3 separate regions of the Homo sapiens genome follow, and all the other regions are linked to region 2. Evidence: promoter capture Hi-C in 16 types of primary human blood cells and fetal thymus (Javierre and others, 2016). All regions are on one chromosome and are shown on one strand. Each heading gives the region's core, a stretch centred on a gene start or on the middle of the fragment in contact. The rest is flanking DNA. Distances are from core to core; before and after follow the strand shown.

Region 1 (3,639 bases), core at 595-3,094, 450 kb before region 2:
CATCCATTTTAAGTGAACAGTTCAATGAGTTTGGACAAATGTAGGCAACCATGTGACCACCTAATATGGTTTGGCTGTGTCCCCACCCAAATCTCATCTTGAATTGTAGCTCCCATAATTCCCACATGTTGGGGAGGGACCTGGTGGGAGATAAGTGAATTGTGGGGGCAGTTTTCCCCATACTGTTCTCGTGGTAGTGAATGAGGCTTGCAAGATCTGATGATTTTTATAAGGGGCTTCTGCTTTCGCTTGGCTCTCATTCTCTGTCTTGCCTGCTGCCATGTATGATGTGCCTTTCGTCTTCTGCCATAATTATAAGGCCTCCCCAGCCATGTGGAACTGTGAGTCCATTAAACCTCTTTCCTTTATAAATTGTCCAGTCTCAGGTATGTCTTTATTAGCAGCGTGAGAACAGACTAATATACCACCCTACAATCAGCACACAGATTCCCGTCAGCCTGAAAATATCTTCGTGCCCATTTGCAATCCATTCCCCTACTCCCAGCATTAAGCGTCTGATGTGCTGCTTTCTGTCACCACAGATTGGATTTGTCTCTAAATAGTTGTATATAAATTGAATCATGCAGTACATCCTCTTTTGCTTCTGGTTTCTTTATGCTACTATAAGTGATGTTTTTATTTTACTTACTGATTGTTCACTGCTAACATAACATTTGTATTCCGCCTCTGTCCCCCTCTCTGCTGTCTTCTCTTCACCTCACGTATTGGCAGAGGAGGTGTTACGTGTTCACTGGCTTATTAGTCCATTGCTCACCACCTTCCACTGAAATATAAGCTCTTTGAGAGTGAGCTTGTATCTGATCCACTGCTGCTTTCCCAGCAGTGTTAATGGCACCCAAACATTCCCTCATAAATGTCTGTTGAGTGGATGACTGAGGCGCCGGACTCCACACTTGAGGGCTGAGGTGAGGAAGGACGAACTCTTCCCAGTGCTGAGCCTGAGGAGGGAGTGTGGGCTGAGGAGGGGGCGTGGGCTGAGGAGGGAGCGTGGGCTGTGGAAGGGCAGACAAGACGGTGAGCTCATGGGTCTCATTGGCGGTCAGGAGAGGGTCCTCTGTAACAGAGGCCTCCAACCCCTGTTGGGAACCAGGCTGCACAACAGGAGATGAGCAGTGGGTGGATGAGTAAGTGAAGCTTCGTCTGTATCTACAGCCACTCCCCATTGCTCTCATTACTGCCTGAGCTCCGCTTCCTGTCAGATGAGTGGTGGCATTAGTCTCATAGGACTGTGAACGCTACTGTGAACTGTGCATGTGAGGGATCTGGGTTGTGAGCTCCTTATGAGAATCTAATGCTTGATTATCTGTCACTGTCTCCCATCACCCCCAGATGGGACTGTCTAGTTGCAGGAAAACAAGCTCAGGGCTCCCACTGATTCTACATTATGGTGAGTTGTATAATTATTTTATTATATATTACAACGTGATAATAGAAATAAAGTGTGCACAATAAATGTAATTGCACTTGAATCATCTCAAAACCATTCCCCACCCCCACCCCACCCTGGTTTGTGGAAAAATTTTCTTCCACGACACTTGTCCCTGGTGCCAAAAGGCTGGGAACTGCTGCTCTACAAGAGGGCCAGCTGCTGCTGGGCTGTGAAACCCACTGAAAAGAAGGACAAATACCAGGTTTTTGGTAATGGGAGGACATTACCAGGGCAGAAATGCCCAATGTGAAGCTCAACTGCACATGTGAATTTGACTGGACTGCAGGGTGCAAAGACGTTTTGACCCAGTGTCACTCTGGGGGTGTGTGAGGAGGTTTCTGAATGAGACGAACATTCGAATCAGGAGACTGTCAAGCAAACGGCCCTCCCCAGGGTGGGTGGGCCTCATCCAATCAGTTGAAGGTCTGAATGGAACAAAAGGCTAAGAGGAAACTCCTCATGTCTGACGGCCTTTGAACTGAGGCATTGGCTTTTTCCTGCCATTGGACTTGAATGAAAACATCGATTCTCTCTGGGTCTCGAGCCTACTGGCCTCCAGACGGGAGGCCAACAGCTCCCGCAGATCGTGGGGCTTCTCAGCTTCTGTAAGAGTGTGAGCCAATGCCCCTCTCTCCTTCCCTCTCCCAGCCTGTATCTGTATGTTTGTATCCGTATGGATGTGGGTCCTGTTTCCCACTGGCTGTTTCTCTGGAGAACTCTGGTTCCTGCCCTCTGTTTTGTTGTTTGTGGCTCTAAGTCACGGTATGTTAAAGTTCAGGTTTAAGAGGATGCGGGCTGCCATGTCTAAACATGTGGGCATAAGTACAAAAATCCTTACGTCATCAGATTGTGTTTCATCATATGGGCTAATTTCTTTCCTCAGGCTAAGCTGCAAGTTCTTGTCTGGAGTCGAAGGACCAATAATATCGCCTTCACCTGCCCCCTCCTGGTCCACTCACCAGGATGCCAGGCGGGACTTTTGCACCACCCTGACTGTGAGGCAATGCCCTGGGGATCCTGCTAAGACACAGCTGCTGACACGGAGACGGGGGTGCCTGAGGCCCTGCATTTGTAACAAGCTTCCAGGCAATGCCTGTAATCCTGGTCCTCGGTCCAGAGTTTGAGAAGCAAAAAAATAAATAATTTATAGGGCCCCTTGCCTCTCCTCAAAGTCTGGTTATATTTTCTAGATAATAAGTGCTATCAGTACCTCGCAAGGAGAACAAAATGGCTCAAGGATAGCTGGAGGCAAAGAAAGTGCAGTGTGTCTTCCAAAATCACTAACTCAAATAAACGGGCTGCCTCTCCGGGGAGGCTCCTGGGAGGAGAGTGTGCCTTCGGTGAGCTCATTCGCAGGCGTTTCTCCTTCGGGATTTACGTTGCTTTCGTGCTATAGCTTCTTTGGAAAATTGCTTGGTTTATTGTCCTAACACAGTTTTGTCTCACTATGGGACACAATGAAAGAGAATGAGTTAATGGTTGAAAGAAATACATTTTGGAGAGAGAAGGAGAAACATGACATTTCCAGATGATTAATTTTTTAATGACTTCTTGGAGAACTTTGTTTGAAGACTTCACCAGGAAGATTGCATGTATACATGTGTGTTTCTTAATCCATTTTTGTGGCCTTAAGTCCTAGGAAAAAATGGTACTGGACAGCCGGAAGTGGCATTTACTTGGAACCACACAGGAAGAAGTACATCATAATTCTGGGAGTTTGCTGTGGCAATTTGCAAAGGCCTTTCACACAGCTGGACCCCTCTCACTTTTCATGAAGAACCCCCCACGCGCCGGCAGACAGCGGCTGCACACACATTCAGGAGATTGCAGGAAATAATTTCCAACAGCAAATGAGACATTAGTTATTCAATGCTGATAAACAACAGCAGCGCTTCATCCGAAGGAATTCCACTGGGATCTGAGTTAAAGCTCAGTTCCGTCCTCTACTCATGGTGACCTCGGACAGAGTCTCTGTGCCTCGGGCCCACCGTTGTAAAATCATGTGGCCTGTCGATGGGTCCACGTCACTTGCAGCATCTTAGTCCTCATTCTGGAGGACACGATGTGCCCTCTTAGCAGTGAGCCCTGGAGGGGCTGACTCGCAGCCGTGTTTACCTATTCCTGTGGTCCAAATGCTCCTGCCAGGGCTGATTCAATTACATCTCTAGCAGTGAACTTCAGCTGGATGG
Region 2 (3,410 bases), core at 770-3,269:
AAAAAAAAGATCACAGCCCTCCGATGAGCCGGGCACTATGCGAAGTCTCCGGCTGCCTGCGGGCCGCTGTGGACGCCCCGGCGGGGGTCAGGACCGACCCCCATCTGCGCGGCGAACGAGCCCGGACGCCCTGGCCGCGGCCGCCGGGTCCCCGCCCAGGGGCCAGGTGGCCAGGTTGCGTCGGGAGGAGGAAATGGAAGCGCTCTGAGCGACTAGCGAGCGGCAGGAGCCGCCTCCCGCGGGCTTTCCTCGCGGGCCGGGAGCGTCTGCCGCCGACCCGAGGACCGCAGGGCCCCGCTCGCCGCCCGCGCCCGTCAGAAAGCCGCGCGTCGCTCCCGTCGCTGTCGGGGTCGTCGGCTCGGGGAGTCGCCCGCCGTCCACCGGTGAACGGGAGCGCGTCCTCCCCTCCGAGGGACTAAGCGCTCGCGCCACGCATCCCGCCGCGCCGGAAGCGGGGACTACTGGCGGCCCAGCTGGGCAGGACCGCGGCCGAATGACCCGGGGCGACCCCGCAGCAAGGGCGCCTCCGGCAGGCGGCAAAGTCCCCTGAGAATCGGCGCGCTCCTCGCCGCGACGGACTCCACCCGGCCGGGGCGCTCAGCCTCCTCGCCGTGGCCCCCAGCCCGGCCGCCTCCCCTAACGGCCGCCGCAGGCTCCCCTCATGGACCGAGAGCGCGGGCTTGCAGCGCGGCAGCGTCCGTTCGGCGCGCGGCTCCGGGCAGGCCCGCCCTCCCCCGTCCCCCTGCGCCGCGAGGCCCCCCCCCCGCCCCGCCCTCCGGCGCCCGGCGCCCAATCAGAGTGCCGCGCACGTGACGAGCGATGCCTGCGATGACCTCATCCCTGGTGTGGGATGACGTCAAATTCAAGATGGATGGAATCACAGCGGCAGCGGCGGCTGCGGCGCGCGCGAGCCGAGTGTGAGCGGAAAGGGGCCCGGCGTCTGCCTCGAGACTGAAGACCGGTGAGTAACTGTCACGCCCCTAGCTCTAGGAGAACTGCGGGGCTCCTTGGGAGGCTACAGCCTCCCCGCAAAACGCGGCCTTTCCTGACGTAACTCTGAGGTGATTTCTCTCCTCTTTTTTCTCCACCAGCGGGTTGCGGGCTCCGAGCGCTTCTGCGCGTGCGCGGGACCTGGGCGCTCACCGAGCATGTCCCGGGTTCCCACGTAGCCGATTGTACCTTCACACTGCGCACGCTCCCTGCCAGCACTTGGCCTCGCCCTCGCGAATGCGCATGCTCCATTCCCTCACGGGCTTCACTCTTCACCCTGGCCGAGCTGCCCCTGGGGTAGGGGACACGCCTGGCCCAGGCGCGCGCCCCTCGCGCGGAGCGGTTGAAACGCCTCGTGGAGAAGGGCGCGTTCTCCTGTTCCGGGCAGGGGTTGGGGGCCGGCGGCCCGGGCCGCGGGGTGTGCGCGGAAGCTGGCCGGCGGCCTTGGGGACCCCGCACCTGCCGCGACCCGCCGCTCCCTTCACGGTCCGGGACCTAGCCCCGCCGCCCCGTCCTCGGCCCGGTGGCCGGAGCGTGACCGCTCGGTGCCCGCTGGACGCTCCCTCCCCGCCCCCGGCCCCTCCCGCGGACGCCTGGACCTCACAGCGCGTTTTTTTTCCTCCAGAGCCCCCGCAGACCTTGTCTGGGACTTCCCGGCGGTCCCGCAGAGCATAGCACCCTCCGCCGGCCAGGAGCCCTGCTGCTCGGCCGGCGACCGTCTCCCCGCTTGGAGGAGCCCCCTTCCCCCCGTCCGAGGTCCGCGGCTGGAGGGGCAGGGAGTCAAGACGCCACCCGTGCCGGCCTTAGAGACGCCCGCGGCAGCCCCGCCACATCTCTTCCCGGCTTTTCGGGAACACGCCCCGTAGTCCATCCTCAGCGGCTCCTGCTTTTCCATCCCAGCACACCGCTGGGGGCTCGCACTCTGCCCCCGGTTGCTATGCGGTCCCAGCCACGAGGGCTCTGCGGTTCGGGAGAATTCCGCAAGAGCGCGCGTTCGGAGGCGGGGTGTTTTTAGACAGGTGCCCCGGTGGGATTGCCTGACCGAGAGGACGGGGAAAGTTAGACTTCACACGGCCTGGGGTTTTTCCTTTCGTGCAAGCGCTCACAGCCCTGGCACCGAGCCTCCGAGGGCACGCGTGTGTTACAAAATAGTCCAGCGATTGTTCACACGATGACCCTGAGTCCTCAATTAAGCAGCTTACATTACGGTCCTCATACCTTGTTTAAGAAGACAAGAAAGTGGGTTAATCCATTTTAGAAAGATTTCTCATGGAAAATTATCTTTTAAAGCTTTCCTCGTGTACTTGGAGTAAATGATGATCTCTAAGGACTAGTAGTCATTAAGTTTAAATTTAAGCACCCCTAAATATTGATGTTAAAAAGAAAGTCAAAATTTGAAGTGCTGGTTTACTTAAAAGTAACTTTTTGTTTATTTTTCCTTTTTAACACTTTATTGAAAGTATAATGTGCTTCATTCTGTTGAAATAGAAGTTGAAGAAGATATAACCCCTGCCCTCGAGGAACTTACACTGTTGAATATTAGATGTGTACACTCTGAAGGAAAAATTGTAAATAACAAAATTGGGGTTAAGTTAAGAAGGTCTCTCGATGGAAATGAGATAATTAAAGGGACAATTTTTTCTTTTCTTTTCTTTTTTTCTTTTTTTTTTTTTTTTTTTTTTGACAGAGTTTCACTCTTGTTGCCCCAGGCTGGAGTACAATGGCGTGATCTTGGCTCACTGCAACCTCCGCCTCCCTGGTTTTGCAACCTCCGCCTCCCTGGTTCAAGCGATTCTCCTGCCTCAGCCTCCTGAGTAGCCGGGATTACAGGCTTCCGCCACATCGCCCAGCTAATTTTTTTTTTTTTTTTTTTTTTTTTTGTAGAGACGGGGTTTCATCCTGTTGACCAGGATGGCCTTGAGATCTCCTGACCTCGTGATCCACCCCACTTGGTCTCCCAAAGTGCTGGGATTACAGGCATGAGCCACTGCGCCCAGCCGAAGGGACAGTTTTAGTTGTCCGCAAAGCCAATGGAAGTAGAGAGAGCAGATTATAAGCTATGTAAGAGCTAGGTTTGACCAGGTCACAGTGATAGGCTATAAGGGAAAGAGAAGAAATTTTAGGGTCTGGCAACACACCAAAGTAAATCGGGAATATGTGAGGACAAACAGATGTGGGAGCAGGGACGAGAGTTGTGGAGTTTAAGTACCATGCTGGACCTGAGGATATACTGTGATGGAACCGTTCAGTAGGTACCTGAGAGGCTGGAGCCTCAAGAGTCTAAACAGAGATACAGATTTGGGAATCATCGTCCAGTAGTGATTAAAGTCACAAGGTCTAATAGAAAAAGCAAAGAATACTGCCACGTTTTGGGGCTCTGTAACGGATGCTGGAGAAATAAAGGTGAGCCAGTCCAGGTC
Region 3 (3,510 bases), core at 758-3,257, 390 kb after region 2:
AGGTTGTTTTCAAATTTGGCTCTTCTAAAGCATACTGTAATAAATAGAGAGTACACACACACACACACACACACACACACACACAAATAAATACACAGTACACATGCTTTCATGTCTTTGTGTAATGATGGAAACATTTCAGAAGCTGATCAATGGATCTGAAGAGTTTTAATTTTATTAGACATTGCTAACCTGCTCTCCCAAAGACTGCGCCAGTTTATACTCTGTCTTAGCCATCTCAGGCTGCTCTAACAAAATACCATGTCCAGGTGGCTGAAACTACAGACACTTATTTTCTCTTTGTTTTGGAGGCTGGAAGTCTGAGATCAGGGTGCCAGCGTGGTTGGGTTCTGGAGAGGACTGTCTTCCAGGTTTTCAGACGGCCGCCTTCTCACAGGTTCTCACAAGGCCTTTTCTGGGGCATTTGCGGAGACAGATAGATAGATAGATAGATACACAGAGACAGATTGATCGATCGACCTTTCTCTTCTTATAAGGGCACTAATCCCATTATGAGGGTCCTACTCTCTTGACCTCATCTAAACCTAACCACCCCCAAAGGCCCTATCTGCAAGTACCATCACATTGGGGGTTAGGGATTCAACATACAAATTAAGGAGGGATATGAACATTCGTAGAGGCCCTAACACAGCCCTCAGCCCTCCATCCGTGTCCTGAGCACGCTCCTTAGTCCTATATGCATCAGCAAATGAGTCATACTTTTAGGTCTTTATTGGCAAAGTTTTTAACACTTTTTTGGAAACAGGTTAATCTCATGGTGTTGTCTTTTTTTTTTTTTTTTTTTTTGAGACAGTCACTCTGTTCCCCATGCTGAGTACAGTGGTGCAATCTCGTCTCACTGCAACCTCCACCGTCTTGGTTCAAGCGATTCTCCTGCCTCAGCCTCTTGAATAGTTGGGATTACAGATGTGTACCACCACCATGCCAGGCTAATTTTTGTATTTTTAATAGAGACGAGGTTTTGCCATGTTGGCCAGGCTGATCTTGAACTCCCGACCTCAGGTGATCCACCCGCCTTGGCCTCCCAAAATGCTGGGATTACAGGCGTGGGCCACCGCGCCCGGCTCATGGTGCTGTCTTGAGTGCTTTCATTCTGTGTTTACACTGTGTGTGTGTGTGTGTGTGTGTGTGTCTGCGCATGTGCTTGAGTGTGTGTTACATACATGATTGGACCCGTTGGGTGAACTTCTTCAGTGGTCGGACACCGTGCAACCTCATTACTCTGCTTTCACTGGATCAACACTGGAAAACACACACTGGGTAGCCATGATCATGTTGGCATCTGGTCCAAATGAATCAATGAAGGCTGTGTAGCCTACCACATCAAACAAGCCCTGGTCACCCTGACATGACGCTTGGGGAAAGCAGACCCCACAGTCTTGCCCTGCACTGCAGCAGGGGGAACCACTCTCCTACAGGGACAGGCGACATATGTAAATTCTGCCTCTCTTCCTAGAAACCACGGCAACTCATTAACAATAAGGCTAGTGAAAAAAAATACAGTGTAGATTTTCTTACTACAAGTTAATTTTTATTATATTTTTGAGTGGACTCATATTCTCGGGATCATCAAAGTAATAGATTAGAGGATAAACTGAGCTCTTTGTTAAAAAAGAGAAATAATAACAACCATCACTCAAAAGAGGGTCATTATTCTCAAAATCAAAAGGACTAAATCTATAAGTAAAATATAGAACACAAATATGGGTATTTTAAAAATGTGAACCCAGCATTGGTGACTCAGTTTTAACAAAATAGCATAATCCATCAAATTAAGCTTACATTGTTAATTTGAAATGTATTGGTGTTGTATTCTAATTTCATTGATAAATCTCTTTGATTTTTATTTACATAAGACCTATCATGGCTGGGTAATGTGCCACACACCTGTGGTCCCAGCTACTCAGGAGGCTGAGATGGGAGGCTTACTTGAGCCCAGGTGATTGAGGTTGTAATGAGCTGTGATCACACCACTGCACTCCAGCCTGGGCAACAAGCAAGACTGTCTCTAAAAAGAAAAGAAAAGAAAAGAAACAACAAAACAACAAAAAACTAAAAGAGCTATCAACGTAATATATTTGTAAGTCCTCTAGTGTTGCCACACATACAAGTAGCAGTAAAATAAAAATACTTTAACAAAAACTTAGGAGTCCACAGGATTTTTTTAAAAAGAGGATCTCTAAATGTAAGCTTGGGAAATGCTGGTTTAAGGCAGACTAAGCTGAAGGTTACACATCTCAGGCTTAGTCTGACTTGGAGAGGTGGGAAGTTTGTTGGAACTGGTGAGAGATCCCAGGAGCTGTGAGAATTCCCGCTCGCAGCTTTGACTGTAGCTCTGAACAACTTACTTCATTCACAGGATGGAGCCCAGGTGTATTAGGCAGTGAGTGGAGGAATCTAGTCTTCAGACGAGGGGCAGACCAGAGCTAGATTAGGGGCTCTTGGAATTATCCTCTTAGACCACTGAAGTGTAGGAAGGGAAGCCAAGGCACGTGGCCAGACCATGGCATTGGAGTGGGAGATGTCAGAGGGGACAGGGCTGTGACTCAGGAGTCATTCAGGCCCCACATCTGACCCCGTGGTCCCAGGAGGTCTGCCTGCTGACTGGGAGACCACTGCCCTGCCCAAGCGCTTTCTACCTTGGTCCTGAGGGCTCTGTCCTGGGGATGCTGCCAGAATCACAGGAGACTCTGTCCCGGAGGGCTGGGAAGGCAGCTGGCAACTGAACAGCCCATTGGCCATCCTGCCTGGCTGGACATGTGGGTTGTCTTTCATTTGTTATGACTAAGAATAGCACATTACCTCTTAAAAACTTTCCAGGCCTAGAAAATCTTCCCCACTCATTGGGGAGCAGGATGCTGGGCTCCTGATTAAATGCTTATCCTGGCACTTGAGCAGATTTGAATCTCTTTTTAAGGAATCTTTGGCCTTTCCCACAGGCAAGCTGCCCACAGCATGGGGAAGAGCGGCCGGTGCTCGCGTGAGGACGTCTCCAGCTCATCTGCTCCTGTATCTGAGAGCTGATGGCTGCTTTTGCATCTGCTTACTGGAACATTTTGCTTCCTTTATAATCAGCAACACAGAATATGGAATTGGCATCATTCTTGGGCTACATGGACTGATTTCTAGTTCCTGCCAAAAATATGTTTGAAACATCACTGAACAGACATTGTCTAAAAGTCTTGCTATCCATTTTTATTTTCCCAGTTTCATGTTGCTTCAAGTTAAAAATCATGAGAAAGCAGCAAACTGATTATTTTAGCTCCCCAAAATAAATTACTTTACTGAGTCATAAGTTAATGCAGTATCCTTGCATTCCATTTAGAGCCAGTATAAGAATGTTCCCCCAGTCTTCTGCCAAACCACACAGAAAGATGGAGTCTCAAATGAAAGTCTACGCAATATGCTTCTTCTGGATTGGCAACAACACAAAAGTGAGACATACACTCCCTTAGGCAGGCAGTGGGGAAACAGATACTTTCACATATT

What was found. Contacts are between HindIII fragments. The CHiCAGO score rates a contact against its expected background, and 5 or more counts as called.
Region 1: a contact is called between a fragment that was not itself captured here and the fragment with the promoter of ZNF295-AS1 in region 2, in 1 of 17 cell types (M0 macrophages). The highest score is 6.1, in M0 macrophages.
Region 3: a contact is called between a fragment that was not itself captured here and the fragment with the promoter of ZNF295-AS1 in region 2, in 1 of 17 cell types (monocytes). The highest score is 5.0, in monocytes.

The regions. Positions count from the first base shown.
Region 1 is chr21:42,454,129-42,457,767 of GRCh38, reverse strand. No RefSeq gene overlaps it. Among named protein-coding and RNA genes, the nearest start is that of RSPH1, 40 kb to the left of the region's middle. The HindIII fragment of the contact is 1,374 bases long and covers 1,158-2,531 here.
Region 2 is chr21:42,007,803-42,011,212 of GRCh38, reverse strand. It overlaps ZNF295-AS1 (ZNF295 antisense RNA 1), which reads right to left and starts at 2,019. Exons shown (of 2, transcript NR_119384.1): 1 at 1,629-2,019. ZBTB21 (zinc finger and BTB domain containing 21) reads left to right here and starts at 853. Exons shown (of 3, transcript NM_001098402.2): 1 at 853-961. RefSeq lists silencers at 41-780, 1,221-1,530, 1,571-1,680. The HindIII fragment of the contact is 6,657 bases long and covers 1-2,282 here.
Region 3 is chr21:41,615,660-41,619,169 of GRCh38, reverse strand. No RefSeq gene overlaps it. Among named protein-coding and RNA genes, the nearest start is that of PCSEAT, 37 kb to the right of the region's middle. The HindIII fragment of the contact is 413 bases long and covers 1,801-2,213 here.